Regions from separate parts of the Homo sapiens genome. Here all the other regions are linked to region 5. Evidence: promoter capture Hi-C in 16 types of primary human blood cells and fetal thymus (Javierre and others, 2016). All regions are on one chromosome and are shown on one strand. Each heading gives the region's core, a stretch centred on a gene start or on the middle of the fragment in contact. The rest is flanking DNA. Distances are from core to core; before and after follow the strand shown. Region 1 overlaps LRRC8D (leucine rich repeat containing 8 VRAC subunit D). Region 2 overlaps LRRC8D (leucine rich repeat containing 8 VRAC subunit D). Region 3 has its middle 57 kb from the start of LRRC8B. Region 4 has its middle 18 kb from the start of LRRC8D. Region 5 holds the start of LRRC8C (leucine rich repeat containing 8 VRAC subunit C). Region 6 overlaps LRRC8D (leucine rich repeat containing 8 VRAC subunit D). Region 7 holds the start of LRRC8D (leucine rich repeat containing 8 VRAC subunit D).

Region 1 (4,343 bases), core at 558-3,057, 220 kb after region 5:
ATATGTTCTTCCATTTCCTGAGAAACAACAGGAAAGATTGCTTTCTCAAAATAAACTAAGTAGCCTGAGTATGAAGTCAGACCAATAGAGATCAAAGATTCACGCATCATCACACAATGGGAAATTTTTAGTCATTTTTCTAACCACAAAAATAAGTCTAATGCTAGTTCTGGGGGTTTGTTTTGTTGCCTGTGGCATCAAGATATGTATGTATAATTCAGAATGTACCTTTGGCATATTTGAAATTGTCTTAGCCTAATGTGACTATCTAGTGTGTCTGAAAGAGCCTATTTTCAAGATATATTTGATGAGTGTGAACATACTACATATACAGCAATGGAAAATAGCCTTCTTGGGCATTAAATTTAGGAAGAATGTAGAAAACCAGCTGACTTTTTTTATCTGTTTAGCATCTAGAATTAAAATTAAACTTGCTAGATCAGTAAATAATTGCATAGCTATGCTAGTAGCAAAAGTTTAGCAGCTCATGTTGAACACTGAACCATATTGAAAAAGGCATCTGCTACAGTAATCTCTCTCTCTCACACACACACACACTCTCAGGTAAGGATAACAGCATTTATTAATATTTCTCTATTTCCAGAAATAAGATATGAGAGGTTATTTTAAAGAAAGAAAGTAAATGCTCTTATGATTGGCAGATTTTTATTTGTGGGATACAAGCAAGATGAGGGAGCAGTATATGCCTGCAGTATTCATCTGTCATTAATTTGTGTCAAATAATGTGATTCTGTATTCCTCAAATGTTGTAAAATAGGTAAACATTTTGTCTTTCACAGAAAGATAGAAAATCAGATCTCCAAGCAGTTTACTGCTATGATCTTAGCTTCCTTTTCAAATCCCTTAGGTATTTTAAACCTAAGTCTTTATATTTAAAATGGGTCTCTTGTAGACGGTATATATTTGGGTCTTGTTTTCTTTATCTACTCTGACAATCTGTGTCTTTTAATTGGTGTGTTTAGGTAATTTACATGTAAAGTGGTTATTGATACAGTTGGATTAATATCCACCACGCTTGTAACTGTTTTCTATTCATTGCATATGCTCTGTTTCTCCCCCCACATTTACTGCCTACTGTGGTTTTAAGTTAACATTTCATATAATTCCATTTTATCTCCTCTTTGAGAATGTCAATTATACTTTCTTTTTAAAAAGGTTTTAGTGATTACCCTAGAGTTTATAATTGATTTTAGTTTCTTAAAACAAAAAAATACCCCAAAACATATGTATGTGTATGCGTAGAAAAAAATTTGAAGGCTTTTCAACAAGACATTAAGAGTAATTATCGGGGTCAGGCACGGTGGCTCATGCCTGTAATCTCAGCATTTTGGGAGGTGAGGCAGGTGGATCACCTGAGGTTGGGAGTTCAAGACCAGCCTGACCAACATGGAGAAACCCCGTCTCTACTAAAAAATAGAAAATTAGCCGGGTGTGGTGGCGCATGCCTGTAATCCCAGTTACTTGGAGGCTGAGGCAGGAGAATTGCTTGAACCTGGGAGATGGAGGTTGCGGTGAGCTGAGATCACACCATTGCATTCCAGCCTGGGCAACAAGAGCGAAACTCCATCTCAAAAAAAAAAAAAAAAAAAAAAGTAATTATCTCTGAGTGGAGATTATAGGTGATTTTGACTTTTTATAATTTTCTGTATTATCTGATTTTTAAAAAAAATAACAAGCAGGTATTTTATAATCAGAAACAAAGCTTTTTCCATTTTGGTGAGAAAGAAAGAGGTAAATCACAGCGAAATAAGCTGAAAATCTATGATTCTAAAATGTATACCCTCTCTCTGCTTCCACCTTGAGATAAGCACATTATCCCATAATTACTTGCACTCCACTAGTGGGAAAAAGGAAAGGGGTTTACTGCTTTTAAGCTTGCATTGGAAAGGTTGTCAGCCCCTGTCCTATACCTTCTGTGCCTACACAATGAAAATTGAATCCTCAGAATGACTTGGAATCAGTCTACCCTGTGGTTTGACATAAAGTTTTCTACATATGTAAAGTTAACCAGGCCCCACTATTTCTGCATTATTGAGGTTCTCCTCTAAGTAGAATGTCTTTTTGCTCTTCACTATCTTTCAAAAAATAATGAGTAGGATTAGAGCACTTGAAAACCACTTTAAGGTATAGCCTTTGCCAGGCAAGGTGGCACACGCCTGTAATCATAGCACTTTTGGAGGCTGAGGTGGGTGGATCACCTGAGGTCAGGAGTTCGAGACCAGCCTGGCCAACATGGTGAAACCCCGTCTCTACTAAAAATACAAAAATTAGCCGGGCGTGGTGGCAAGCACCTGTAGTCCCAGCTAGTCAGGAGGCTGAGGCAGGAGAATCACTTGGACCTGGGAGGCAGAGATTGCCGTGAGCAGAGATGTCACGCTACTGCACTCCAGCCTGAGCGACAAGAGTGAAACTCCATCTCAAAAAAAGTATAGCTTTTCATGACAACTTTGTAATACTTTTTTTGTTTGCTGTTATGAAATATCTCCTTTTGGGTGGGGTGGAGAGGGGATGTCAGGTAGTATCTGTGGTAATAGGTGAAGAGATGATAGCTAATGTGAGGCTGTTGGTCCATCTGGATTTCAGGGAACTCACCTCCCCACCTTGTGAAATATTAGAGAAAATTACCATTACTGTTCTCATGATGTTAATTATATCTTCTGAAGTTTTAGAGGTTTACATATAAACCAAACCCCAATTAAGGTTTAAGAAAGTGGCATGACTTAGTGCAAACAGATGAAATGTTGATTTCTTTAAAAGTTGTCTTAATACTAATGGATCTTACAGGTGTTTTCAAGAAAGTTATAAGTTTTGTAAGTATAATTTTAGTAAATAAAATTTTGTAAATATAATTTTAATTTTGGACTTTTTTTTTTTCCTTCCTTACTTGCTGCATCAAAGTGAACAAATGACAAGTGAAATTTTTTTGAGTCTTCTGAGAGAAGGAAGTTTATAAAAGCAGATGCCTTTTTCTGTACTTCCAGGTCAAAAATTGTAGGCCTCCATTTTAATATAGCTTATTGTTAGAACAAGGAAATTTCATTTAAGACAAGAAATGAAGTCATAGTTACATTCTGTTTAAAACTAATAGAATTAAACATTTTGACATAAATAAAACAATTAGAAAACTTTACAAAATAAATGTAAAAAGAATTCATTCACAATACACTGATTATTACAGCTATGTTAAAGTCTACAATTGAACACAAAATATAAACAATTGTTATTTAAGGGATTATAAGTAAATTTAATAAATTTTCTTTACAAAATTTTTGGTGAGATATCTTATAAGAAGTAGAGGGGTCAGAAATCAAATTTCTGGGATGCTTATTAAGATAAGCTTGAAATGTAATTGAATTTTTAAATTCGCATTACAAGTCATAATAGTAGACTATTCGGTAAATGTAGGGAGTAATGGTAGGTAATAGCAAAGCTAGGTAATTTGACTCTTTTTTTTTTTTTAAGCTCATTTTCAAATGAGAGACTCCATACACGGAGATAGTAGTGTCGAACAATGATAAAAATTCTAGGAGTTGTTACTATCTTAACACATTTATCTAAGCATTTACCTATGTTGCCTTGGTGCCTTTGACTGCTGACATTGCACCCTTTCGTCTGTTTTTAACTTGTCGAAATTGTTGTTATAACATTTATCTGCCTCTGTTCCTCAGGTATAGCTGTGAAAATAGAAATGGTTCGGGGTTAAGGATTGTGAATGGGAGGAAGAAATAATCCTCTCATTATTTTCAATACAGGGAAAGAGGATTATTTGTAACCCTGAGCTTTTACCCCAAAAGGACATAAAGTATAATAGGTGATCTTTGCTTTTATAAATGTGAACCATAATAACTACTCTTGGGAAAGGATTGATAGGCCCTATTTTCTACTTGCCTTTTCATCCATTTATTTTGTGATAATTCCTCTATGTTTCCTAATCATTTGCTCTTTGAAAAAAGTGAGAGCTTGTGATCAGTCCTGCACGGAAGCCAGTACACAATCTAGGTATTAGAGCAGTGCATTGACAGAGAGGCTACCTTCCATTTTGTGCTTCCAAGAGGTGGTTGTAAATAGGAAAGTGAAAATTGTTAAATGACAAAAATTACTTTGAAGTAAATTTCTCTGCCTGTTTTAGAACTTAACTCTAGATGAAGAATCAGTATATTTTGGGGGGCAGTAATAGTAAGACCAAAAAGCAACGTTTTTACAGCAGTGTCAGAATATCTATTTGCCAAGTATTATTTCCACTTTATGGATGGGGCCTAAAAGCCAGATAGTTTGTTTGACTTGAAGGTCACTGGTTAATGAGCCTTTTATTACTACGTAGG
Region 2 (4,088 bases), core at 382-2,881, 240 kb after region 5:
TTATTTTGTACAGGTTAAGTAGCCCGGTAGAATCTTTTGGAATTGATTGAAAATACAAATGCCTTTTTGACAGGCATTGCTGTTGGATTTTTTTTAACATGGGAGAAGTTTACTAGATTTCAAATTTTAAAATATGCATGGGATTGAAAGTTAGAAGCTCTGAAACATTTAACTATCTGGTCTTTACAAAATATCATAATAGGTGTCCATTAAATGTTCTTCATTCACTCATTCATTTATTTTATAGTTTTTGATCATTTGCTGAATGCCAAGCAGTGTTTTAGAAGCTAGATTATACAGTTGTGAATATAACAAAATCCTTATCCTTATGAAGACCATATAGTAGATGAGTCTGATAAGCATGTGTTTCATGGATATCTATTAGATATCCTTTAATAAGTGCTAATAACAAAATTAAGCAAGATAAAGAGATAGGGCAATGAGAGAAGGGGGTGTTACATGGTCAGAGAAAGCCTTTCATATACAACAGTGTAACTTCCACCTCTTTTAAGGTCTTCTTTATTTCTATATGTTGTCATCTGACACTGTACCCAACACATAGAAGGTGCTTATTAAATGTTTAAATGAAATTTTTATTTATTTAACAAACACTTATAGAGGACTTACTCTATGCCAAGCAGTGTTCTAAGTGCCTTGCAAATATTATTTTATTTGATTTTCACAAGAACGCTTTGTATACTGTTTCATTTTATGAGGAAACTGAGGCACCAGGATGTTGAGGAACTTCCGCAAGGTCACAGCTAATAATGAATGAATCAGTTTGTAAAGGAATTTAAAAAATAAAGATTCTTAAAGGTTCTTAGTGCCACCTCTTGCTTTCAGGAACACCAGATAGGGTGGGACTCCATATTTTGGGATCATGTTGGGTAGGGAGCATGTCAGCCCCTGAGGTCCTTTTGAAAAGCTCCTAATACCTCTACCTCCCAGGCCAGGCAGATACCACTCTTCTCCAGGCTTCCATCCACTCAGAGCTCTTTCCTGCTGGACCCGTTGGAAGCTTCGTCTGCTCTGCTGACACCTGGACTTTCCTGGGGCTGAGGTTAAGTGATAGCTTTTTCTCTGTGGTTGAGGAATTACAGCTACTAGAAAAGAATGTATCCTCTTCATCCATTCTCCTACCTACTATTTAAATGGCAAGTAGTGTTTTTATACTGTGGTCCACGGACCCCCAGGATTAAAACCACCGTGGGGCTCATTTACCATACAGATTCCTGGGCTCCACCTCAGACCCACTAAATCAGGCTTTGCAGATGGGGCCCAAAAATCTCTATTTTAAGCTTCTTAAAAACTACTGGGTTAGAGGATGTGCACTTCCCGTGTGAGGGGAAAGAGATGAAGAAAAGAGTTATATAAGACAGGTTTGTCTCCACAGAGAGTGCAGAGAGGTTCTGTAATTCTGATGGAATTCTTTCCCTGCCTGGTTAGAGCAGAGAGGTGGCAGGGTAGTGGGAGATCAGATATTAAGGGAAAATCCATGTGAAAACTCCAGAGTCATTTAGAATAAGGGTTAGTTAACCGTGGTCTACAGGACAGCTGCCTGTTTCTGCAATAAAGTTTCTTTGGAACATAGCCACATTCATTGGTTTATGCATTGTCTGTGGATGCTTTGCACTACACTGATAGAGTCGAGTAGTTGTTACAAAGACTATACTGCCTCCAAAGCCTAAAATATTTAGCATTCGGTCCTTTATAGACAAAGTTTGTTGGATAGCTTACCAAATAACTACATGAAGATTGAAAAGTTTCTATCTGCTCTCCAATTTGGTAGCCACTGGCCCTTGAAGTTTGGATAGTGAGCACATGAAGTGTGGAAAATGTGACCAGGTAACTGAAAGTTTCATATTATTTGGTTTTAATCAATTTTAAAAATTAATTTAAACCTCAATAGCCACATTTGGCTGATGGCTACCATGTTGGATAATGCAGAACTGCAGAACTAAAGTGAAGCTTTCAGATTGGGATTGGCTGTAAAATGTCAAATATGACAAGGGTCTGCTTTAGGCCTCTGGAAAGAGGGAGTCTAAGGAAAGGAACATCTAGATAGGATATATTTTAGAAGAAACTTCAAACAGTTCTTTCTCTCTCTCTCTCTTTTTTTTTTTTTAAATTTGTGTTTATTAAGAGTTACTTGTAGGGATCCAGTTCTGCCACTTACAGCTTTTTGACCTTGGTCAAGTTACTTAGCTTCTCTCTGCCTCAATTTCCTCATTGGCAAAACAAGGATAATAACAGTACCTTTTAAAATTTTTATGAGCTTTAAGTGTGTATGTGCTTTAAAAATACCTTGCACATAGTAAAAGCTTTGTGAGTGTTTGCTGTTCTTAATTATTGTTATTATTATTTCATGATTTTTTGTGGCCTAATCTAAGAAAATAATCCTTACATATTTGCCCCACTCCCCCTTTTCTGTTTTAAGGAAAGTGGATTCTGAATTTCAGAGTAATTTGTATATTAACCTGGCTAATGCAGCCTGTTCCTAAAACGTGGCTAATGCAGCCTGTTCCTAATTTAGGGACCAGCGGTGGTTCACCTCCTTCCACGCAGGTTTGTTACAGTTAACACGGTTGGGTCCAGCACGTGACATACATGGTATGGTATTGTCTAGGTTTTATTGATGGTCACTGTAAACTTTTATAGATAACTGAAACTCTTCAAAAATAAACTAGGCATTTTTATTTAGAAGCAGACTGTTTCTTAGTGTTAGTTCTTGTTCCTAAGCAGGAATCATAGTAATATTTGAAAGGAAGTATGTTTCTATTTTATCTTGAGACGTGTCAGAATCTCCTAACATGAGTATGCTTGGTGCCTTCCCTTTTATAGAAGCTGAGCAGGACTGGCAGGAACTGTTTGAGAGGTGCGAGTTCCCTTTGTTTGTGTAAATGATAGCAGTGATAGAAATTGAAAAATGAAAGAAAATTCAGAATCATGTCACTATGGGTTTTTAAAATCCAGTGGCTATTTCTTAACTCTTTCATCTTCAGTATTTTTTACTAATTAGTTCCATAGACTTGCAGTGGATAAACAATATCACTTAAAAACCTCCCAGAAGCCAGTGAGTGCAGCTTCTTGAAAATCTGCTTCTAAGTTTTCTGAGACAGCAGTGATGTGAAAATACTTTATAGTGCCTAGATCTGTTATCCAAGGCTCGAACAGCAGAGTGTTCAGCAGGTATTATGTGCTCAACAGTTGCTCATCAAGCTGCCTTTTTGACCTGTAAGATGGCATTGCCAACACCTGTTGATCAGTACATAATATGAGAAGAAAGCCCTTGGCTAGATGGCAAGAGGTATTTTCTTATGCAAGTAGTCCCATTCTCTAGGCCATATTGTTCTGTTGGTTGTCTTTTCTAATTCTGGATTGTGTTTGAATGTATCTGAGATGCATTGAACTTGCTTAGAGTTTCCATGGACTCATTGTACTTAGAGCAGAAGGAATGAGAACATGGTCAACTATTAATATCCTCTAGCTTGAAACTATCTACAGTCTGAAACTTTAGTCATCTTAGGGAAGGAGGATATGGAAGTATAGAAGTCTCTGATGAGGGCCATGTGCAGTGTCTCACGCCTGTAATCCCAGCACTTTGGGAGGCTGAGGCGGGTGGATCACCTGAGGTTAGGAGTTCGAGACCAGCCTGGACAACATGGTGAAACCCTGTCTCTACTAAAAATACAAAAATTTAGCCAGGCATGGTAGTGGGCACCTGTAATCCCAGCTACTTGGGAGGCTGAGGCAGGAGAATCACTTGAACCCAGGAGGCAGAGATTGCAGTGAGCTGAGGTCGCACCACTGCACTCTAGCCTGGGCAACAAGAGCGAAAATCCGTCTCAAAAAAAAAAAAAAAAAAGTCTCTAATGAGATGTGGCCCATGAAGGACTGGATTGCGCAGTAAGCACAGCTGTTTGGCTGCAGCCCCTATTTTTCTGTGCACATCCGTGCACCCCCCTGCTCTGTATCTCCCTGCTGCATTTGTCCGCTAGACTTTATCTATGCTTTTCTAGCACTCTTATCTACAGCCGTTGACACCCATTTGTATCTCTTCAGCTGAAAAAGAGTAAGCAATGAAAGAG
Region 3 (4,046 bases), core at 14-2,513, 170 kb before region 5:
GAAATGACAGAGACGGTGGAAGTTGAATTCAGGTCTCTCTGATGCCATGCCCTTTCCAGTATGCCTCAGCACCCTACTCTACCACCACTAAAGGGATCTCGGAAAAATCACTTAATATCTTTAAACTTCAACTCCCTTTACTAGAAGCTCTTAATTATAATACCTGCCCCTGGCATCATCCTGAGGGTTAGGGAACTCATAGAAAGTATTTTGCAAGTGTTTATGAACATACAAATGACAGGGTGTTTCAGCTTTACTTGAGCAATGACCATTTGTGTTATCCAAATTGGCTTCTTCTTTAAAAGTTTAGACAGAACTATCAAAACAAATTGGGGACTAAATACCTCTGTGATGTACACTTCTATAAGGCCTGGCACAGGATGAAGGCTCAATAAACGTGTGTTTTCTATTTTTGGTAAGCAAAGAGGCTTTAATCAATAGCTGTCCAGAATGACAATTGTAGCAAATCCTGATCATGGATAACAGCATCTAGAATAATAGCCAGTCCATCAACTCATGTTAAAACCACAAAACCACATCCCTGCTGTGCTAGGGAAGCATCCTTTTGTCCTGAATGAAGTTCAGTATAATATCGAAACTTCTGTGAGAAGGATAAATCCAGAACAATTAAAAATAAAAATTATTGTGTTAGGACAGGTCACACAAGTAGTTTTCCTGGTGATACCTCTGTGATACTGGTAATGAAGATATTATGTGGTTAGTAGACACATCATCAACCACAAAGAAAGAGCTGTGTGCCATAGCAAACCGGCCATACCACTAAGCTTCTACTACCTGAATGCCCCTATCGTGTGGAGTCACGTGGAAATGTAACATGGGTTCTTTTTTGTTTGAGACTGACCTGGGTTTTATAAATCATTAAATTTTCTTTCAGAGCAATTGGATTAACTTTTGTTGTAAGTAAAATGCAACTTCTTTTGGTTTGTTTAGAACAATGTATGTATGGTATGTGGGAGGAGAAGAAGGAGAGGGGAGAAAAGGAGAAGCAGGAAGGGGAAGAAGATAAGCAAAAGGGAAATGAGATAAAAATGGCCATTGTGAAATAAATGTTTTAATTCAAGAGAAAGACAAAATATTTCTAAATTTTTTTTAACTTTTATTTTACGTTTCGGGGTACATGTGCAGTTTTATTATGTGGTAAATTGCCTATCACAGGGGTTTTATGTGCAGATTATTTCATCACCCAGGTGATAAGCATAGTACGTGATAAGTAGTTTTTTGATCCTCTCTCCTCCGGCTCTAAATTGTTATGTATGTAATAACAGAGCCTCAAAATAAATTCTCAACAAATTTCAAAGGGACAAAGTCATATAGAGTATATATTTGGCCACAATAAATTAAGAAATCAGTAATGAAAAGGAGCTTGAAATAAAAACACATATTTTAAATGACCCATGTGTTACAAGAAGTCATGATGAGAGTTAAAAAATATTTGAACCCTTCTTTGCAATGATAAATGGATATATCCTTCTTTATTTTGTACAAAAGTCTCTGTGTTTATTTTGTGGTTTCTAAAATGCTGGGCATACCTCTGCTTGGTTGAAAAAAAAAAAAACAGCATGGTACTTTCATACTGAGTGTAATTCTCTGCTTTATAGAAACAAATTCTGAAAATCAGGATTGAATCTCCATTTGCTTAACATTAATAACCTCCCGCTCTGTCTCAAGTTAGTTGGTGTTGGCTACAAGCCAGGTTTATATTTTAAAATAACAGTGGAAGAAAGCTTTGTACTGTGGTTATCAATTGCTGAAGGAAAAAAAAAGTCTTTTTAATGAAATTTTCTATATGCCAAGATAGGTGTTTATGAGTAAAGACAATATTGTAGTCAAAATAGTTTCTTAACCTGATATAGTATTGTTAGCTTGCTAGAATTAAAATAATTTTACTTTCAAGATGTTATACATTAACTAGCCCCAAAGGAACAACTTTAAAAAAATTTCCTTTAATGATAGATTTATTTGTTGACAATTTTTTATACTAGCATTGTAGTTCAATTTGATTATGAATTAATAACCTGTGTATTTAAAATAATCATAAATGTTGCTGAAGAATCACAGGTGGTACATTTAAAAAATGTTTCTGGCCGGGAGCGGTGGCTCACGCCTGTAATCCCAGCACTTTGGGAGGCCGAGGCGGGCGGATCATGAGGTCAGGAGATCAAGACCATCCTGGCTAACACGGTGAAACCCCGTCTCTACTAAAAATACAAAAAAAATTAGCTGGGCGTGGTGGCGGGCGCCTGTAGTCCCAGCTACTTGGGAGGCTGAGGCAGGAGAATGGCGTGAACCCAGGAGGCGGAGCTTGCAGTGAGCCGAGATAGCGCCACTGCACTCCAGCTTGGGTGACAGAGCGAGACTCCACCTCAAAAAAAAAAAAAAGATGTTTCTAAAGTGTTTTAATTAGACATTTTGAAATATGCAGGATCATTTCAACTTATTCAAGGTAATAGGAATGATTTAAATTCATATACATCCCCAAAGTTGCTTTTTCCTGATGAAGCCCTTGCCATGCACACATCCTGAAGTTGGAAGACAAAAGTTTAAGTCCTACTTCCACCATGCACTAGCTGAATGGTTAAACTCTGAGCATGCTTCCTTACTGATTGTATGAGTATAATGGTGATACCTAAAAGGTTTATTTTTTTATCAAATTCTGAAATGACTAATAAAACATTTTATGAATTATAAATATAAATTAGGACTGAATACTAATAAATGACAAAACAGACACGTTTGTTTCAAGTTCTAAAAGAAGTTATTGACATTAAAAAACAAAGAGAATACTCACATTGTACATTTCTCTGTGTTCTGTTACCATATTGAGAAAGCAAAGAAGAATATTTAGAACACTCAGTAAATGAAAGGCATGGTTTAACCTGGAATAACTGAATCTGTGAAATAATGAGGAGCTTCAAAAATTGTCTCCAGATTATTTCTCATGCTGACTCTAGCTGGAATATGTTAGTACAGTTTAGCAAAAAAAATTATGAATGCCCTGCCACATGAAGTTGACAGATAATGTTGTGTGTTAGAGAAACTATAAAGATGAATAAGGTAAAATTTCTGTCTTCAAGAGCAAAGAGTAATGAAGGTCTTAGTTATGCATTATCAGCTGGGATAGTTGGCTCCAAAATTATTTACCCCTTACCTCTCTCTCATTATCTCCCTCTCTCTTTCTCTCTCTCCCTCTCTCTCGTTATACATCTGCATATATTAAATCTATGCATGTATACATGAACAATTGAATATATGCTCATACATATTCTTAACAGCCTCTAGAATCATTCCTTGCAAAATTACATATTTTTGTCTCATTCCTTCTATTTTAGTAAAGGGCATCATCATCAACCTGGCTGTTTAAACTACAGGGAGCCTAGGAAAATACAAGTTAAAATAACTATTATGTTATAAATGTGCTTGAAATCATAAGGGAAGATAATAATAATAGTTCATAATAATTGAATGCTTATAGACCTTATATTGCCCATCTCATTGCAGCTTCAGAACAATGCTGATGGGGTGGTAACAAACCACCCCAAGCTATATATAATAGGTAACCGAAACACCTAGAAAACTGGTTCCCATACTATATTTCACATTGAGCTACAGGAGCAAAAGCCATGAATGTATAATCACTTGCTCAGTTTTTTAATCAAGTTGAAGCTAAATAACAACATCTTATTGTTTGCAGCTTTGTGGTGACTATAAATCTTTTGTTAATATAATGCCGGTAGTGATTTATTTTTGCTGTTTAAATTCATAAATTGCAGGATTCTAGGCAAACATCGCACTTACCCCTCAAGGGTAATATACCAAATTTTAAAAGGTTATGATAAAAATCCTGAGTCTTTCAAGAGATATGACTGAAAAACTGGGATACCTAAACAAATTATAAATAGAAAATGATTCATCTCGAAGTCTTTTTCAGTTTATTTAGTTTAAAACATCATAAATTAAATTTAGTGAAGCTGGAGAGTTTGAGAAAAAGAATAAGAAAAGACAAACAAAAATCAGAAATTGTTTTA
Region 4 (3,990 bases), core at 1,043-3,542, 170 kb after region 5:
AGCACAGTGCAACCTCCGCCTCCTGGGTTCAAGCGGTTCTCCCACCTCAGCCTCCCAAGTAACTGGGATTACAGGTGCCTACCACCATGCCTGGCTGATTTTTGTATTTTTAGTAAGAGACAGGATTTCACCATGTTGGCCAGGCTGGTCTTGAACTCCTGACCTCAGGTGATCTGCCCATCTCAGCCTCCCAAGGTGCTGAGATTACAGGCATGTGCCACCATGCCCAGCCCTGCTGTGATGGTTTTTAGAGACTGATCTATGGCCCAGTCTGTGGATGCTGTTTGGTGGGGATACTGTAGCTGAGTGGAATTGAAGTCAGTTTCACATATGAACAGAGTAAATGATTGGAGGGAGTAGGCAAAGATAAAGCCCCCATGTATCTCCCCATCAGCTTGCATGCTTTAGGCCTGACATCCCACATCTCCCACTCCTGTAGCCAACTCCATAGGTATTTACTGGATGTGCACCAAGGGCCAGGCAGGCACTCTTAAACATCCCCTTCAATTTCCACAGCCTTTGCATAAACCAGCCCACATTTTAATTTTTATTCTCATAACCACGTTTTGAAGGTAGAAGATACTTTCTCTGTTTACAGTCCTGGAGGATTTACCCTAAATCACAGAGCTGATCAGTGGCTGAGCTGGGATTTGAATCTAGATTCTCTAACTTCAGCGGATTTCTGCAGAAAAGGCAGGTTTGTTTATGAAGGGGCTTATTATTTATGTCATAGATACTAGAGTTTGGTGGGCCTTGACCTGTTATAAAGTGTTTGGTTTCCTAATTACATAAGCAAGAGGATTTAAAATGCAGAAAGAGGCCCTTTCAGTGACAATCTCCTTTCTGGTCCTCTCTGACCCATCTCATGGGATATCACAAAGCAAGAAGCACCTCAGAAAGCAGAGAGGCCCATTTCGATGAGCTTGTTTGGGACAATGTGCAAAGAGGCCCTGATGCCCTTTGTGGAGAGGGAGCACTTAGGAAAGCTTGGACATGACTTTTCTGCTTCCTCACCTGGTGGAGTGGCGGCTTGGCAGCTGCATGGCTGTAAAACACCACTGTCTGGTCACTCTGCTTCTAATTGAATGCACATCACACTAAACATATTGTTTGCAGGAGTCTTAATTTTAAAAACAAGAGAAATGTGGGAGGAATGAGCCGGCTTGCTCCATCACTTTCCAACTCTCTGCACCTGTTCTTCCATGTGATTCTCATTGTCCTCCTCGAGGGACTCCTGTGTAGTCAGGGAGACCAGGCTAGGAAAGAAGTGGAGGGAGGCCCAGAGCTTCTTTTGTCTGTATTGTTTGGCAATCTGAGCTATCCCTTTCTGTTACACAGCTTGAACATGAGAGTTGTTTTTCAAAAGCCAGGGGAAATAGCACTGGACTACTGATATGGAAGTACCTCTGTTGATATGGAAGTACCTCTCCCATCAGCCCTCTAAATGCTTTTGAGATAAAGTGCCAGCTAGCTCCCATGGGGCATTTGCCTCAGTTGCTTACACAAGTCTAACAGAGATGGAAGGGATGGCTGTGAAATCAAAGTGAACAAGCCTATTTAAATCTTCATTACTCAGTCCCAGCAGCACCTACCAGAGCCCACAGCGCTAGCAATGGGCTCAGAGCATCTCACTGGGCTTCCAGCTGTGTTTTGTTTTTATTTTCAAATTATATGATGTGATGCCCTCAACCAGAGTTGAGGACCCAGTGACAAGGAGAGGCTGTCCTGCCACCGGTCCTGATGTTTAGTCTTTACTTGGCAGAGCACAGGGGCGTATGCTGGGTAAGCCGGTGCCAGATCTGTGAGCACCGTGGTCCAGCAGACAGAGAATTCCAAATCCAGAGAATCTAGATATTGGGAGTTTTTTGTATAATCACCCTGTTTTTGTAGCACTGGCCTCTTAAATCAATTAGGATATTGAATTTCTGAGTTGGCTATTTAAGTACATTACCAGAAAAACCTCTAAACAAAGCATGTACCTTAACCTGCCATTCTTACACAGTCTGAGGCCTTCTGATGATTTTCCCATTAACATAACACATTCCTAGAATTAAGGACGTGAGATAAACAGCAGGTCTAAAAAGAATTCCAGGCCGGGCACAGTGACTCATGCCTGTAATCCCAGAGATCTGGGAGGCCAAGGCAGGAGGATGGCTTGAGGCCAAGAGTTTGAGACCAGCCTGGGAAACATAGCAAGACCCCATCTCTACAAAAAATTTTAAAAATCACCCTGCTATACAGATGCATACCTGTAGTCCCAGATACTCAGGAGGCGGAAGCAAGAGGATAGCTTGAACCCAGGAACTAGAGGCTACAGTGAGCTATGAATGTGCTACTGCACTCCAGCGTCGGTGCTGGAGCAAGACCTTGTTCCTAAATAAATAAATAAAATTCCACAAAAGGTTCTAGGAATGAGGTTTTGATTAAATGAAAAATCATTTAACTTTTTTCCTTAGCTACTTTACCCATTAAGAGCTAGAATAAAATTGATTAGAGAAAAATAATAGCACCCATATATTGATGTCTTACTATGTGCCACGCCTTGTGTTAAGCCCTTTCATATATTTCTTATTTAATCGCCACAACAATGTCGACTTCTCTTCCTGTTAATGGAAATATGGCTTAGATTTACCTAAATTTACAGAAGCCACTAACTGGTGGGACTAGGAATAAAACTGACATAAGTCTGTGTTTAAAGCCCTTAATTTCCGTGCATCATTTGTAAAAAGATGACTGGAAGGGGTCTTTATTTTATTTTGAGACAGAGTCTCGCTCTGTCACCCAGGCTGGAGTACAATGGCGTGATCTCGGCTCACTGCAACCTCTGCCTCCCCAGTTCAAGCAATTCTCCTGCCTCAGCCTCCTCAGCAGCTGGAACTACAGGCATGTGCCACCATGCCCAACTAATTTTTGTATATTTAGTAGAGACAGGGTTTCACCATGTTGGCCAGGATGGTCTTGAACTCCTGACCTCAGCTGATCTGCCCGCTTCGGCATCCCAGAGTGCTGGGATTATCACAGGCATGAGCCACTGCAGTGGGCCAAGGTCTTTATTTTTGAACCTTGCATTTTCTATAGCACTTTGTAATTTTCAAAGTATTTTGTGAACAGTATCTTTTCTCGAATCTCTTAATAATTCTGTGAATAAGGCCGAAAAGGCCTCTTTCCCATTTTGCAGATGAAGAAACTAAGGCCCAGACAGGTTAAATGATTGACCAAGTTTCCAGAACTAGTAAATATTGGAACACCAATAAAAATGTAGGTCTTCTGACTCCTGTCCCAGTGTGAGATCCGTTCCTCTCACCACCTCTGCATATAAGCAAAGAACCATGTGCTGGAAGAGACTTGAGTGATCATGGAGTCTACAGATCTCATTTTTAATTTTCAGAAACTAAGATCCAGAATGGGGGCATTCCTTAACCAAGGTCACCCAATTATCCAATAACAGAACTGGCCCCAGAAATCAGACTCTCAATATTTGCCACTCTTTCAAAAAAAAAAAAAGAAGAAGAAGAAGAAGAAATTTGTAAGCAAAATCATCATCATTAAAAAGCATTTGAGGGAAACATTTTGCCAGTTGCTTTGGAATCATGAAAGAGGAAGCTTCAGGATGAAGCATCATTGGTTCCTGAGTTCTATCCTCAACCTGCACAGTATTTACCAAAAGATTTTGTTTCAATAATAAATTTGTTCATAAGTCATTAATATTATGCCTGTAAAGTCATAAAGTAATTTTTCCTCGGTGTTGATGTGTAACTTGCTATTAAAGATGTTTTTATGTAGGCTACAAGAGCCTTCAAAGCACAGTGTGTCTTGCATTAGAAACTTGAACTGTGCAGACAGAATGAGTCATTACAGCATCTGACACTAGAGGGCGCTCCGTGAGAAGGCTGGCTACACAAGCAGGAAGCCTCCTGGAGCAGCTGGAGACCAAAAAGGGAAGCCAAGAAGAGAAGAAATAAACAGTAAAAAGATACAGTATTATCAATG
Region 5 (4,086 bases), core at 1,416-3,915:
GTTAACTTGTAATTACACAGTCTTTAGTGTGAGAACTACTAACTCTGGAAGTCCAATTAGAATGTCAAAATTTAGCCTAAAGAATTGGGTATAAAGTGAAAGGTCAAGACAGAGTCTGTGCACCCAGTTCATCTAGCTCACAGTACCCTCTCCTTCCTGGAGATGTGCTGAACTTCAAGCACATTTGCTTCAAAATGGTTTATTCTGGTTTGTGTGTATGCATGATTCCCATGAACTATGAACACCCTGAAGTCGGAGAATAAGCCTTGTACTTCTTTAAGACCCTCACTCAAGTTGACTGATTGCTAATTCTACCAGTCCTTTACAGAGAGCTTGCTAAGTGTGGATGTTAATGTGAATTAGGTGGACTGAGGTAAGATCACTAGATTTAAGGTTTACATGCTACAAAATAAGAAGAGGTGAACTAACCAGTGTAGCATAGTTTTTAGACTAGTGGCTTTCAAGCATTAATGTGCATGTGAATCACCTGCCTACACGTGAAGAACTACCCAGTTGATCCAATTAGAAGGCAGACACAAGAGTAGCCAAAAGTATTGCAATAAAGCAACTTGGGGTGGACTCAACTTGCAGGGGATTCAGATCCCAGGTTTCCAAACCTTTTTGCTATTCCTGGTTCTTTTGCTTTCAGTGAAGAGTAGTTAAGTACAATAGTAGCTCTCATTTACTGACTACTTACAAAGTGATTGGCACTGTTCTTGGTGCTTTGAGCATATTAGCTAATTCTCACAGCACCCTGTAGTACTATACCTATAGGGATGATAAGGGGATGTGGGTGGTGGGGAGGGGGCAGATAAAAAGAACAGTAAATTTCCTAAGTTTAAACTGGAAGAATAGGGATTTCATCCTGGTTCACCTGAGTACAAAGTCTAAGGTTCAATGATTCCTTGACACTGGGTAGCAAGGGAGCATTTCAGGGATGCCTAAGCTTGTGGTCAGGTGCCAACGGTACAAAGATAGAAGTATATCAGAGAGCCCTTGCAGAATAAGGCCCTCCACAGGAGGGTTGTGACCTTGGTACTTGCCTCACTGTGTTTAAATTCAGGTAAGGTAAGAGAATTGAAGAGGTAAAGCTACCTTAGAGAGTATTGCTGCATCTACCCTGGTGACTTACAAGGTACTTGAATTTTTTTTTTTCTAGCAAACTGCTAAAGTTAGCCTTTGCCTTTTTCCCAGAGACTCTCTAGGAATTTTTCCCATCTGCTGACTAGGAGGTAAGCCCGGACCTAAATTTTTGTCTTGTTGTAGGTTAATTAAGACTGGTGTTAGATTCAGCTCCTAAGGCCTAAGAGAATTTAAGGTTGTCTTCTGGGAAGGACACCCAACAGCAGCATTGGAATTGGAAAAAAAGTGTAGGATTTTGCTGAGTGAGCAGGGGGAAAGCAATGTAAAGCCCAAGAGAATATCTTTTGAACAAACGTCCTTTTCATTTTGGTTTAGAAATAGAAACGTGGTAAAAGGAGGCGACTGTTTTCTGAAGGCTTGTAGCACGAAAACAGGCCAACTGGCCAGCAACTAGTTGTCTATCAGTTTCTCTACTCACATACATCTGCCTTTTCCAGACTGCCAGCGCGGAGCACTAGTTTGACTTTGGGTGCTCTTCAAATAGCTGGCATTGATAAGGCATTCCCAGAAGACTGTGTTACTTAGTAATCTTGTCGGTACATTTTTTCACTGGGCAGAGATTTTCCAAACAGAGAGCTGCCAGCTTTCAAGACGTCAGAGTGCTTTTTCATCCTGAAATTGGGTGGGAAAATGGGGAGAAGAAAAGCACGGTTCAGATCAATCAATGAGAGAGAACCCCTCCCTCCATACTCGTTAAACAACAGGTGGTTTTGCTGTGCACCGTCAACTCCTTTATGCGGGAGCTGTAGGCGGGGCATTCCAACTGAGTCTCCCTGGAATCTGCCCCTTAGCCCGTATTGCAGGGGCGGTGCAGTTGGGGATTCCGGCCTGAAAGGAGACTTGGTTGTCAAGGGGCTCAAGGGCTTCATGATCCAAGGATATTGGGTTTTGCTTTTCTCCTTCTCCATCTTCCTCATTCTATCCCACCGTCCCCTCCCCACCCTTCTCTTAGGAGGCCTTCGCTTCTCCTGTGGAGGGGTTATCTTCATCCTGACCCTGGCCTTCGGAGGAGTTCCCAGAAGGGCTATTTTTAGTGGTGGCTGCTCCCCTCTAACTTACCCAGGGGAGGAGCTGCGGTGGCTGAGCCGACGCTGCGCGCACAGCCGCCTGTGGTTTTCCGCGCATTGTGAGGGATGAGGGGTGGAGGTGGTATTAGACGCAGCCGAATCCTCCCTCAGAGTCCGCCAGGTGGGCGTCTCAGGGGTGGGAGTGGCCGCGTCGTGAAGCGGAGAGAGGATTTCTCTCCTGGTCCTGGAGAAGGCCCCCGGCGGCCGGCGGCATCCCTCGCTGGCGAGTCCCGGGAGCGAGGTGGTCTCTGCAGGGGAGGAAGTTCCCGGGCGGCGCGGCCTGCGTCACAGCGGGGCTGGCACCGCGGAGTCGACTCGGCGGGCGGTGGCGACCCCGGGGCCGGGCGCTGGGCGGCGCTGGCTGCCGCTAGCCGGGCTGCGTGCGGGGCGGCGCTGGAGGCGGCTCCGTCCGCGGCCGGGGAGGCGGAGGGGAGGAGGGCTTGCGGGGCTGGGGCGTTAGCTGCGTCCCGGCTGGAAGCCCGCGAAGAGAAGTAGGAGGAAGGCGCCGCCGTGGCCGCGGCCGCAGTGCTCGGGCGCGACAAGCCATGAGCAGCGACCCCGCGGGCGACGCCGCCGTCCCTGGCAGCCGCTGAGCCCGACCCCCAGGCAGCTCGCCGCTCCCTAGCACCTTCTCCAGTCGACACTCTCGCGCCCGGAGGTAAGGGCGGGGGATCCGCGGAGGGATGGAGAGGGGCAGCCCGCAGAGGGCCACCCGCTCGGTCCGCTGTGCGCGCCGGACCGGGACTCGCCCCGCCTCACTCGCGTCCTTGCTTCCCCCCGGCTCTCAGACAGGCAGAATGTGGTTGCCCGCCCGGCGTGTGGTGCTGGGAACCTTCCGCTACTGCGGCTCAGGAGCCCGCCAACCCCTACCCCACCCAATCCGCGCTAGCCCGAGCGGCCGCGCGAGGATCTCAGCCTGGCGCCCAACGCCGCGCCGCAGCGGCAGGTCCTGCAGACTGGGCGCGGGGGTGGGGGGGCGGTCCGCGAGGGGAAATGCGTCCGTGGCCGGGGCGATCGTTGTTCTTTCCTACCTCGAAAATCTCTGAGACCCCGGGGCCAGTCCTTTCCGGTCTATCACCCCCCTGCCACCTCCGAACCCTTGAAGTTAGCACTTTTGGGCAGGGAAAGGAATTGGAAGGTTTCTCGAAGAAACGTGAGAGCACCGTGTGCTCACCTGCAGGACAGGAGGGAAGGGGTTCAGCTTGATCGGGCGGGCCCCAGAAGCCAGGTGTTTAGGCCAGCGGTTGAGGCCAAAACCGCTGCCTTCATCCCACGCCTAGGCTCGCTGATCTTTCCCTTTCCAGCTGGTTCCCACCAATGAGATGATTAGGGATGGAGTTAGCAACTCAGGAGCCTTAGATGTGTTCTGTGGACACGAATGCCTTTCTTTTCTCCCTCAGCCGGTTCTTCCCTCCCCAACCCCCACGCCTGCCCGGTATACAGCAAAGTCCAAACAGTTTCTTCCAAACCTCGCATCCTCCGTAGTTTTGCAACAGCCGGACACCTAGCCCGCATCCTAATGCGGATATTTCAGAGTATTACGGCTAAACTTCCCTTGGTTTCAAATTCCTTAAACATGTTAAAGCCTCAGCAAACGTTAGGAAACATTTTCAGGTTCCCATCCTCAAAGTAAAAAATAAGAACCAATCCATCTTTGTTGGAGTGCCGGTGTTTGGCACGGGGAGGCTTGAATTACCTCCATTTAAAGCAGCCTTTGAAGGAAGGAATAGGTAAAGGAAATCGCAGCCGTTTGTAAGTCACATACTTCTTTCGCGGTAGTGTGAGAAACGTAGCCTTAACCAACAGTCACATTTCCCGACAGGTATGTGATGGTTTCCCAAAGCATCGATGAGGCTTCAGCGTGGGCAGGTCATTA
Region 6 (4,028 bases), core at 1,456-3,955, 200 kb after region 5:
TAAACCATGGGAGGGGGCCAGTCATCAAACTTTGTGGAAGTTCTGTCTGTGTAGGTTCTATGGTTTGCTTTTTGTCCTCTGTAAGTATTAAACAGTAATCTCTCAGAGCATTGTCATTTGGCTGAAGTTTTTCACATGTATTTCCTGTTCAAATCTAGAATGTGGGATGGCTCTAATCCTTATGCCCCTGTGCTAGATTTCTCCTTTTTTGTTGCTGTTTCTTTTAGAAGGCAGAGGAATATATGGGATTTTATTGTGGGCTGTACCTGTCTTCAATGACAATCTCTTGGAGAGCATGAGCTCTGTAGTTTACTGCCTGGGTTTTTACTCTGCCTTTCTAGCCATGGGAACATGGGAAAGTTACTTAACTTACTATAAAATGAAGATACAATAATATTTACCTCCTAGGGTTAGTTGTGAGGATGGTTTATATAAAATGCTTAGAACAGTTCCTGGCACATAGTTAACACTCACGTGTTAGCTGCTGTTGCTGTTATTATTGTCATTAATTCTGCAGATACCTAAAGGTATTCCTTGCCTGCATTGCTCGCGTATTGAGGGCTTCACCTTAAAAAATAACTGTACAAATTATGATTGAGAGTAGTAAGGGTGACATATTAGAAAGTTTTAATTATTCAGTGACCCTCTTTCCTTTCAGAGCCTTTTATTTTCTAGAAACATATGCTTTCCTCCCATGAACAAGCCTGCTAGGACATACTTAAAACCCATATCTGGTCAAGAATCTCTTCCTGCATATTGGCTACAGAGCTAATAGTGCAGTTCTTCAGTCTCTTAGGAGCTACATGAAATGATGCTCACTTTTACATTTCCTAGGACCCAGCCTGAATATAGGTCATTTTTTTTTCAAATGTTTCAGAGCTCTCTTACTCTCATTTGTTAGTTCTAAATCAACTGCTAACATTTAAAATACAATTTTTGCTGGGAGGACAGATAGTTCTACCAAGGGATAAGCTATTTCTCAACATTAAAGAAATTAGAAATTATAATTTATGCTTAAAAAAATAATGTTAGTTCAAGTTTTAGCTTGCTTCTCTCTGCCTTCTCTACTGTTCTTTGTCCTGCCATGTGTTTGCAAACCATTCTCATGACCTTCTGCCTGTGCGGCATATTTGTAGTGGGGCCAGATTATACATACGCCACTGACATTTTCATCTGACCTCCTAAACTCAGCCTTTGAGCCCCTTCTTTTCTTTGGGTTTTCCTAACGAAGTCTTGTTGAAAGGAATATTATTTCCCATGGAACTTTACTGATAGTGTATGGAATAATACGATCATGCTCTGTGAAGTTCAGACCTGAAGTCTTAACATTTTAAACATGTATCTATTTGCTATTGCTTACTTAGTTCAGTCTTGGCATTTTAGGTTTAGAGGTGGTTACTACCCATTGGACATCCATAGCCACTCCCTGCAAATTAAAGGGGACACAAAAATGAAACTGAACTTCTGTTTTTCTTCACCTCTCTGCTAATTTAACTAAGTCAATTGGCTCGCCCTCATTTGCCCTCTTCACACCTCCCAAATTAATGTTATGTGCAAATTTGATTAAAACAGCGTGAGTAATTTCCAAGTTACTTTTGAATACGGATTGAATTCCGTTCCTTGTGGCTTTTTCTTCATCATACTAGTAGATGTAGCCAGTGTTTTTGTTTCTAGCCTGCTTAACTTGTGTGGTTCTTGGAACAACATAAGTTTTGGTTGATTTAGGATCCTGATTTCACAGGATACTGTATCAACTGCTTTACCAAGATCAAAGTACATGGGTTCACTGCATTCCTTTCAGTTGCTAATTCAGTTGTGCTGTAGCCAGGCAATCCTGGAGCCTTGAAATCCAGGATTCTGGTCAAGGTGAGGAAGCAGCCCTTCCTCCTGGCCTTTTCATTCTGCAAATACCTTTTCTTTCCTTCTTAATATTTATTTATTCAGCAATGTGGCCCAGGCTCTGCATCCCTGACTTCCTAAAGCTTTCAGCCTAGTGCCCCTAGACAAGTGGTTACATTCTTGCTACAAACTGGAAAGTCTCTGAGCCCCTCACCCCACTCCTCCCCACTTCTTTTCTTCTGCTGTATTTATGGCACTGTACCTCATGAACTTTCACACAAGGGAAAGCAAACTCAATCCAATTGGGTCTTATGGGTAAGAAAATGTGTTGGTTAAAGTAGATTCTGGTCAGCCAGGCTATCGAAGTTTTAGTATTTACTAGCAGTGTGACTTTGGGCAAATTACTTAACATCTCCATGTCCATGTCTCTTTTCTCATCTGTAATATGAAGATAACAATAACTCCTACCTCATAGGGTTGTTGTCAGGAATCATTGAAGTGTTAATACATGTAAAGTGCTTGGCATTTATTAAACTAGGGTTAGTTAAAAAATTGATGAATAAGCTATTAAAAGTTCATAATAAAGTTTCTGGAGTTTTCAGGTACTCCGTTTCTCTTTCGTGCTATTTGCCTTGGCTATTCCACTACAGGCAAAGGAAAGGAGATGAAATTTAAAGTATCTAATTTTGTAACCTTAAATTATTCATGAATTGTTTTTCTTCGTGTAGACTCCATTATAATGTATAATGGAGAATTGTATTCAAGATATGATGTGTGTGACTTATTCCTTATGAACTCTGAAAGTCATTTTTAAGAACACTTCTTAATAATGAACATTATATTTATTTGACTTTTTAGGATCCAACCCTTTTACATTGTTGGGCTTTTTAATATGTTATTTAAAAAACAAGATTGCCCAGGCCAGGCGTGGTGGCTCACGCCTGTAATCCCAGCACTTTGGGAGACCGAGGTGGGTGGATCATTTGAGTCCAGGAGTTTGAGACCAGCCTGGGCAACATGGCGAAACCCCTGTCCCTTAAAAAAAAAAAAAAGGGGGGAAAAAAGAAAAATTAGCTGGATGTGGCGAGCTCCTGTAGTCCCAGCTACTGGGGAGGCTAAGGTGGGAGGATTGGTTGAGCCTGAGAGAACAAGGCTACAGTGAGCTGAGACTGTGCCACTGCACTCCAGCCTGGGAAACAGAGTGAGACTCTGTCTCAAAAATAAAAATAAGATAAATAAGATTGCCCAAAGAGAATTAAAACAATGTTTCAAATAAGGAAGCAGATACTACCACAGAAGATTAACAGACAAAACATGCTTTCCAAAGAAGAATGAATTATAGGACAGTATTTCATCTATGTAATACACATCAAAATCAACAGTCATTAAATAATCCAAGGCTATTCATTCCTAGCAGTCTGTGCTGGGAGCATTTTGAACAGTCTTTTATACAGGTATTTGCATTTAGTCAGAATTTTGGGGGATCTTACCCTTCTTTCACAGTATTATGCCTAGTAAATCCCAGTACATCAACCATCATGTCCTACTTTACATGCATTTTTTTGCATACTAATTGAAGAATGAGAGAGGAAGCTTGGAAAAAATGTATTAAGATTTTGTTTATCACAGTTTGATCAGTGGATCAGTCTTATTATTTTATAAAATAATATCCAGCTGCAGCTCAAGTGCATATTTTACCTAATTTATATCTACTTATATTCCTATGGCTTAAAGTCAGTTGACCTATTACAAAATACATGTTTATCCTTTACACTTTACCAAAATCTGGCGAGGTGATGAGGGTGTATGATGCACTTGAGAGAGAGCATTACAAGTTATCTTTTTAAAGTGGGATTTTTTTTCTGAGCAAAAGATATGTAGTGCAGAATAATATATCCACAGCCAAAATGCACCCACTCATTTCTATTCAATTAAAAGAAGGAAGAACAGACCCAGGGTGAGTTTTCGTTCCATTACCTAAGGCTTTGAGAATATCACTTAACATCTGTGAGCCCTGCTGCTGCTTCTGTAACACATTAATAATGACACCTCCCTGCGAAGGTAGTTCTGAGAATTCATTGAGGCAGGGCCTGTGAGGGTTTGTCCTATGTAATGTTAGTAATTTTGTGCAAGGTGTGTGGGTTCATTGTGTGTGTTTGGAAGCTGAGGAAATTGGAGCACTGAGCTTA
Region 7 (4,160 bases), core at 1,571-4,070, 190 kb after region 5:
TACAGGTGCCTGCCACCACTCATAGCTAATTTTTTTATTTTTAGTAGAGACAGGGTTCCACCATGTTGGCCAGGCTGGTCTCGAACTCCTGACCTCAGGTGATCCTCCAGCCTAGGTCTCCCAAAGTGCTGGGATTACAGGCATAAGCCACCATGCCCAGCCAATTTCTGTTGCTTATAAGCCACCCAGCTTATGGTATTTTGTTATAATAGCCTGAATATACTCTAAAACAATCCTTTAAATTTTTAAAATTATTATTCTGATTATCAGAGTAATATGTGCTCAATATAAAAACAATTCAAACATACAGAACTTGATGAAAGGCCCTAGTAATCCCACACCCAGAGATAATCACCATTAACAGCTTGTTATATATGCTTCCAGACTTCTTCTGAAGCATACATTTAATAACATGTATATCTTAATGCAAAAAAGTACAAAAAAATGGAATCATACTATTCATATTGTTCTGCAGCCTCCTTTTTTTTCACTTATAGATTTTGGACATCCTTCCATGTAGGTACAAATAGATCTAGCTTATTTTTGTTAATGGCTGCTTATGGTTTCCTTCTACAGATCTAGCAAAATTTGCTTAAACAGTTTCCTACTGGGACTTTATTATTTGATTTTTACACCATTACATGTTCCCACTATTACAAACAATGTTGCAATAAGACACGTATATATATATTTTTGTACATGTGTAAATATTTCTGACATAATTTTTGCACAAATATGCTTAAAGCACAAACTCTTAGACATGGACTTACCTATTCAAAGGGAACACACCTATTTATCAAAAATTTCCAAATTGTCCTCCAAAGGGGTTTGTCCAATTTCCTCTTACTTTTACAGTGTGTGAGTGTCTATTTCTCCACATTTGACTGTTTTCTGAATATCACTTTTTTCTTTTCTCGATTTATACCAATCTTAAAATCATGTTTTTCAAGTCTAGAATCACAATTTAAAACCCAGGGAAGATCAAAAGAACAAAGTACAGAAGATTGGTTTTTTTGGTTTTTTGGTTTTGAGATGGAGTCTCACTCTGTCGCCCAGGCTGGAGTGTGGTGGCACCATCTCAGCTCACTGCAACCTCCGCCTCCCAGGTTCAAGCGATTCTCCTGCCTCAGGCTCCTGAGTAGCTTGGATTACAGGTGCGTGCCAACATGCCCAGATAATTTTTGTGTCTTTAGTAGAGACGGGTTTTCACCATGTTGGTCAGGCTGGTCTCTAACTCCTGACCTCGTGATCCTCTTGCCTCGGCCTCCCAAGGTACCGGGACTACAGGCGTGAGCCACTGCACCCGGCCTATAATTTTTTTTTTTTTTTACAAACAGCAAAACATTCCATATTCATTATAATAGTGGGCTGTTTTCAATAAAAATATCACACCACTAGTTGTTAAGTTTTAAAAGACCTCTCATCTCTTAGATCAGCAAATCTGACACTGATTAGATCACTTACACACACTCCCTGCCCATACACCTCCTTCTTGGCAGTGTGTGGAACAGGAGTGGCTGCTGGCAAGGAGGGTCGGGGAAGGAAAGTGAGAGCAAAAGGGCCGAGGGCTCAGAATCTGGTGGCATCTTGTAACGGGTCTCGGGCAGTCCCTTGAGTGTATTCTGGACCTCTCTGTTCATGTTCCTGTTTGGGCTGCTCTTCTTCACGTCCAATGCCTGAGGGCCAAGTGCTCACCATCCAAGGGTCAATTCTATCAGCTCCTCTCTGAATCCTTTTCTGAAACCCTGGACAATCATTCTCTTTAATGTCTCACTGTCTCTGAACCGACACCTTCCTGAGTACCTGTAACATTTGTGCAGCATGCTTATTAAGAATATTTAGATGCTGGGTAAACGTTGATTGAACATTTGCTGACATGGAGAGATATTGGTAGAAGACAGATTAGACTTCCGATGGTTTACAGAAACACATGGATTCAGATAAAAGAAGATATGAAAGCACTGGGTTGAACCACATATTTTATTACAACCAAATAACTCCAAATATCCCGCCTTAATTTATTTATTGGCCCCTGCCTCTGCTCACCCACAAAAAAGACTGCAAATGAACCCCGATCCTACAACAACAACAACAAAAAACGGTGACATTATCGGGCTGCAAAACCCTCTTAGCATAGAATAATCTTTTCATCTGCCTCTTTCAGATGTAACATATTTTTGACGAAAAGAATGGGATGAAAACGGCGGGCTCAGATAAAAACAAGAACCGACTTTCCAATACAGCTTCAATAACAGACGGAACACATGAAGCTGAGAAACTCTCCATGCCAAGTAGTAGTTGTGTGTGCCCCAAAGCTCAGATAAGTACTTCTCCTTAGAGTTGGAAGGCACTTAAGTGACTTTTTAACGTAATTCAACTCCCCACCCCCAGCGCCAAGTCTTAATATCAGAGTTTTAGTCGACGGGACAGCCTCCTTCGCCCAGGACGGGTGAAGGCTCCTGACCATGCCTCGCAGCTAACTGGCAGCTGCGCCTGCCCGGCACCGAGCCCTGCCCAGGTGGACGCTTGCGAGAGCATTACGGCGATGGTTATGTAGGCTGCCGTTCTTCCCCTCCCAAGCACCTGCTCCGCATCTAGCAGTCGCTCGCCGCCAGTCTCCAACCCCGGGTCCCCTCCCTCGCCACACAGACCCCGTCCGGTCAGGCGCTGCAGGGCCACCGGAGAAAGCGCTCGCAATCACATGGAGGCCCGGGCCCGCCCCATTGGCTGCGGCCGGGCCAGTCGCGGCACTCGCCGGCTGCGGTTGGTCCCAGAGCTGCAGCGCCTGCACGGGCCCGGAGTCCATGTTACGCTTTGTCTAATTCCCCTCGTTACAGAGTCATGTGCTGCTGCTCCCGTCGCCGCTGCTGCCGCTGCCGCTGCCGCCGCCCGTGGTGCCCCGGCTCCTCCGCCGCGCTTCGAGGTGGCAGCCGCGGGCGGGGCCGCGGGAGCAGGGTCCAGGGTGCAGCGCGCCTTCGCCGCCCCGGCGCGTCCCGGTGCAGCCGCCGCCCGCCGCGGGTGATGCCGCCACCTCCGGCCTCAGCATAAGCCGTGGCTTGGCGGCCGAGCTGCACCCCAAGGTTGGTGCGCACCTCTCCCGGCAGGGGCCGGGGGCTGCGAGGGAAGGCGACGCGCAGGTGGAGCCGCGCCGAGCCGGAGCGCGCAACCCTGGCGCAGGCGCCGCGGCCCGAGCTGCGGTTGCGGCCGGGAACTCATTCGGGGACGTCCGGGGGTCGGGAGGAGGTGGCGGCGAGCGGAGTGGGCTCCCGTTTGCTGCCGCCAGGGCCTGGGAGATTGTTCCGCTTTCTGCAGTCTGAGCGTCGGCCGCTTCGGCCCCGGGCGGCCGGCCCTGCGGGAGGGGAGTGCGGCTTCCTGGCTCCTGAACCCCTCGCGCGCGCTCCCTTCTCTCACCTCCCTCCGCCCTATCGGAAAGGCGGGGAGAGCCGGTTTCGGCTCTGCTGGTTCCTCCCGGAGGTGGGTGTTTGGTGTCTGGCCTTGCTGGCCCGGCGTCCAAAGGTGAGCCCTTTAACTTCTCCAGAATCGCCTCCCCTCCGCTTCCTTCCTGTGCAGGGTGGGCTGCGCTGGGAGCCCGGCGGGCGGGGGCGGGGAGGTGAAGGCCCGCGCCCCGCCCCCCGCGCCTGTGGGAGGGAGCTGGGGGCCCGCAGGTGCACCCAGCCGTCCGCGGGCCGTCTCCGGGTTGGGTACCGGTATAATCCGCTTCTAGCTTGTTTGGAGGCGTGGGCTCTTGGGAGCGGGACTTCTGCTCAAATCCTGTCCAGGGGCTTGAAAAGGAGGAGAATTGGGGGTGGTTGCCGGGAGGACCAGCACCTCCAGTTACTGGAGGGTTGATAGGGGCCTTCTCCTTTCCGTCACCCTTTACTAGGGGGTATCCCTTGCAGATAAATGAGATTTTTTGATTTCTTAAAAAGCCAGCTGCAGTGAAGAAGAACTGCTGCAGGTCGAGGGGAAGAGAGGTAGGTCCTTGCTGGAGAGGGAGAGGTGGGCTGTGAGGTTCCAGGAGCACGCACTTGGGGTGTGTGTGGCCGAAAGTATGGAGGTAGGGTTGTGGGAAGGAAACAGCCGAGATGAGAGGGAGGGCGCACTCAGGATGTAGGCGGAGAGATGGGGAATAGGTACTGGGGAGTCCTAGCGGAATGTGG

The links. Contacts are between HindIII fragments. The CHiCAGO score rates a contact against its expected background, and 5 or more counts as called.
Region 1: a fragment that was not itself captured here is called in contact with the fragment with the promoter of LRRC8C in region 5 in 1 of 17 cell types (total CD8 T cells); the score reaches 5.7 in total CD8 T cells.
Region 2: a fragment that was not itself captured here is called in contact with the fragment with the promoter of LRRC8C in region 5 in 2 of 17 cell types (non-activated CD4 T cells and activated CD4 T cells); the score reaches 5.1 in non-activated CD4 T cells.
Region 3: a contact is called between a fragment that was not itself captured here and the fragment with the promoter of LRRC8C in region 5, in 8 of 17 cell types (activated CD4 T cells, megakaryocytes, M1 macrophages and 5 more). The highest score is 8.1, in activated CD4 T cells.
Region 4: a contact is called between a fragment that was not itself captured here and the fragment with the promoter of LRRC8C in region 5, in 11 of 17 cell types (total CD8 T cells, activated CD4 T cells, monocytes and 8 more). The highest score is 9.1, in total CD8 T cells.
Region 6: a fragment that was not itself captured here is called in contact with the fragment with the promoter of LRRC8C in region 5 in 3 of 17 cell types (non-activated CD4 T cells, monocytes and naive CD8 T cells); the score reaches 5.5 in non-activated CD4 T cells.
Region 7: a contact is called between the fragment with the promoter of LRRC8D here and the fragment with the promoter of LRRC8C in region 5, in 8 of 17 cell types (monocytes, total CD8 T cells, naive CD8 T cells and 5 more). The highest score is 7.8, in monocytes.

What each region holds. Positions count from the first base shown.
Region 1 is chr1:89,855,792-89,860,134 of GRCh38, forward strand. All of the region lies in intron 2 of LRRC8D (leucine rich repeat containing 8 VRAC subunit D), which reads left to right. Among named protein-coding and RNA genes, the nearest start is that of LRRC8D-DT, 36 kb to the left of the region's middle. The HindIII fragment of the contact is 172 bases long and covers 1,722-1,893 here.
Region 2 is chr1:89,875,121-89,879,208 of GRCh38, forward strand. All of the region lies in intron 2 of LRRC8D (leucine rich repeat containing 8 VRAC subunit D), which reads left to right. Among named protein-coding and RNA genes, the nearest start is that of LRRC8D-DT, 55 kb to the left of the region's middle. The HindIII fragment of the contact is 670 bases long and covers 1,297-1,966 here.
Region 3 is chr1:89,465,737-89,469,782 of GRCh38, forward strand. No RefSeq gene overlaps it. Among named protein-coding and RNA genes, the nearest start is that of LRRC8B, 57 kb to the right of the region's middle. The HindIII fragment of the contact is 960 bases long and covers 784-1,743 here.
Region 4 is chr1:89,800,967-89,804,956 of GRCh38, forward strand. No RefSeq gene overlaps it. Among named protein-coding and RNA genes, the nearest start is that of LRRC8D, 18 kb to the right of the region's middle. RefSeq lists an enhancer at 1,112-1,613. The HindIII fragment of the contact is 2,617 bases long and covers 985-3,601 here.
Region 5 is chr1:89,630,455-89,634,540 of GRCh38, forward strand. LRRC8C (leucine rich repeat containing 8 VRAC subunit C) reads left to right here and starts at 2,666. Exons shown (of 3, transcript NM_032270.5): 1 at 2,666-2,868. It overlaps LRRC8C-DT (LRRC8C divergent transcript), which reads right to left and starts at 2,440. Exons shown (of 3, transcript NR_033981.1): 1 at 2,203-2,440; 2 at 1,562-1,755. RefSeq lists a silencer at 2,468-3,127 and enhancers at 3,508-3,557, 3,588-3,637. The HindIII fragment of the contact is 6,667 bases long and covers 945-4,086 here.
Region 6 is chr1:89,835,320-89,839,347 of GRCh38, forward strand. All of the region lies in intron 1 of LRRC8D (leucine rich repeat containing 8 VRAC subunit D), which reads left to right. Among named protein-coding and RNA genes, the nearest start is that of LRRC8D-DT, 16 kb to the left of the region's middle. The HindIII fragment of the contact is 1,450 bases long and covers 1,981-3,430 here.
Region 7 is chr1:89,818,212-89,822,371 of GRCh38, forward strand. It overlaps LRRC8D (leucine rich repeat containing 8 VRAC subunit D), which reads left to right and starts at 2,821. Exons shown (of 3, transcript NM_001134479.2): 1 at 2,821-3,080. It overlaps LRRC8D-DT (LRRC8D divergent transcript), which reads right to left and starts at 3,583. Exons shown (of 1, transcript NR_185885.1): 1 at 1,963-3,583. RefSeq lists silencers at 2,350-2,409, 2,850-3,199, 3,300-3,399, 3,490-3,699, 3,571-3,790. The HindIII fragment of the contact is 10,555 bases long and covers 1-4,160 here.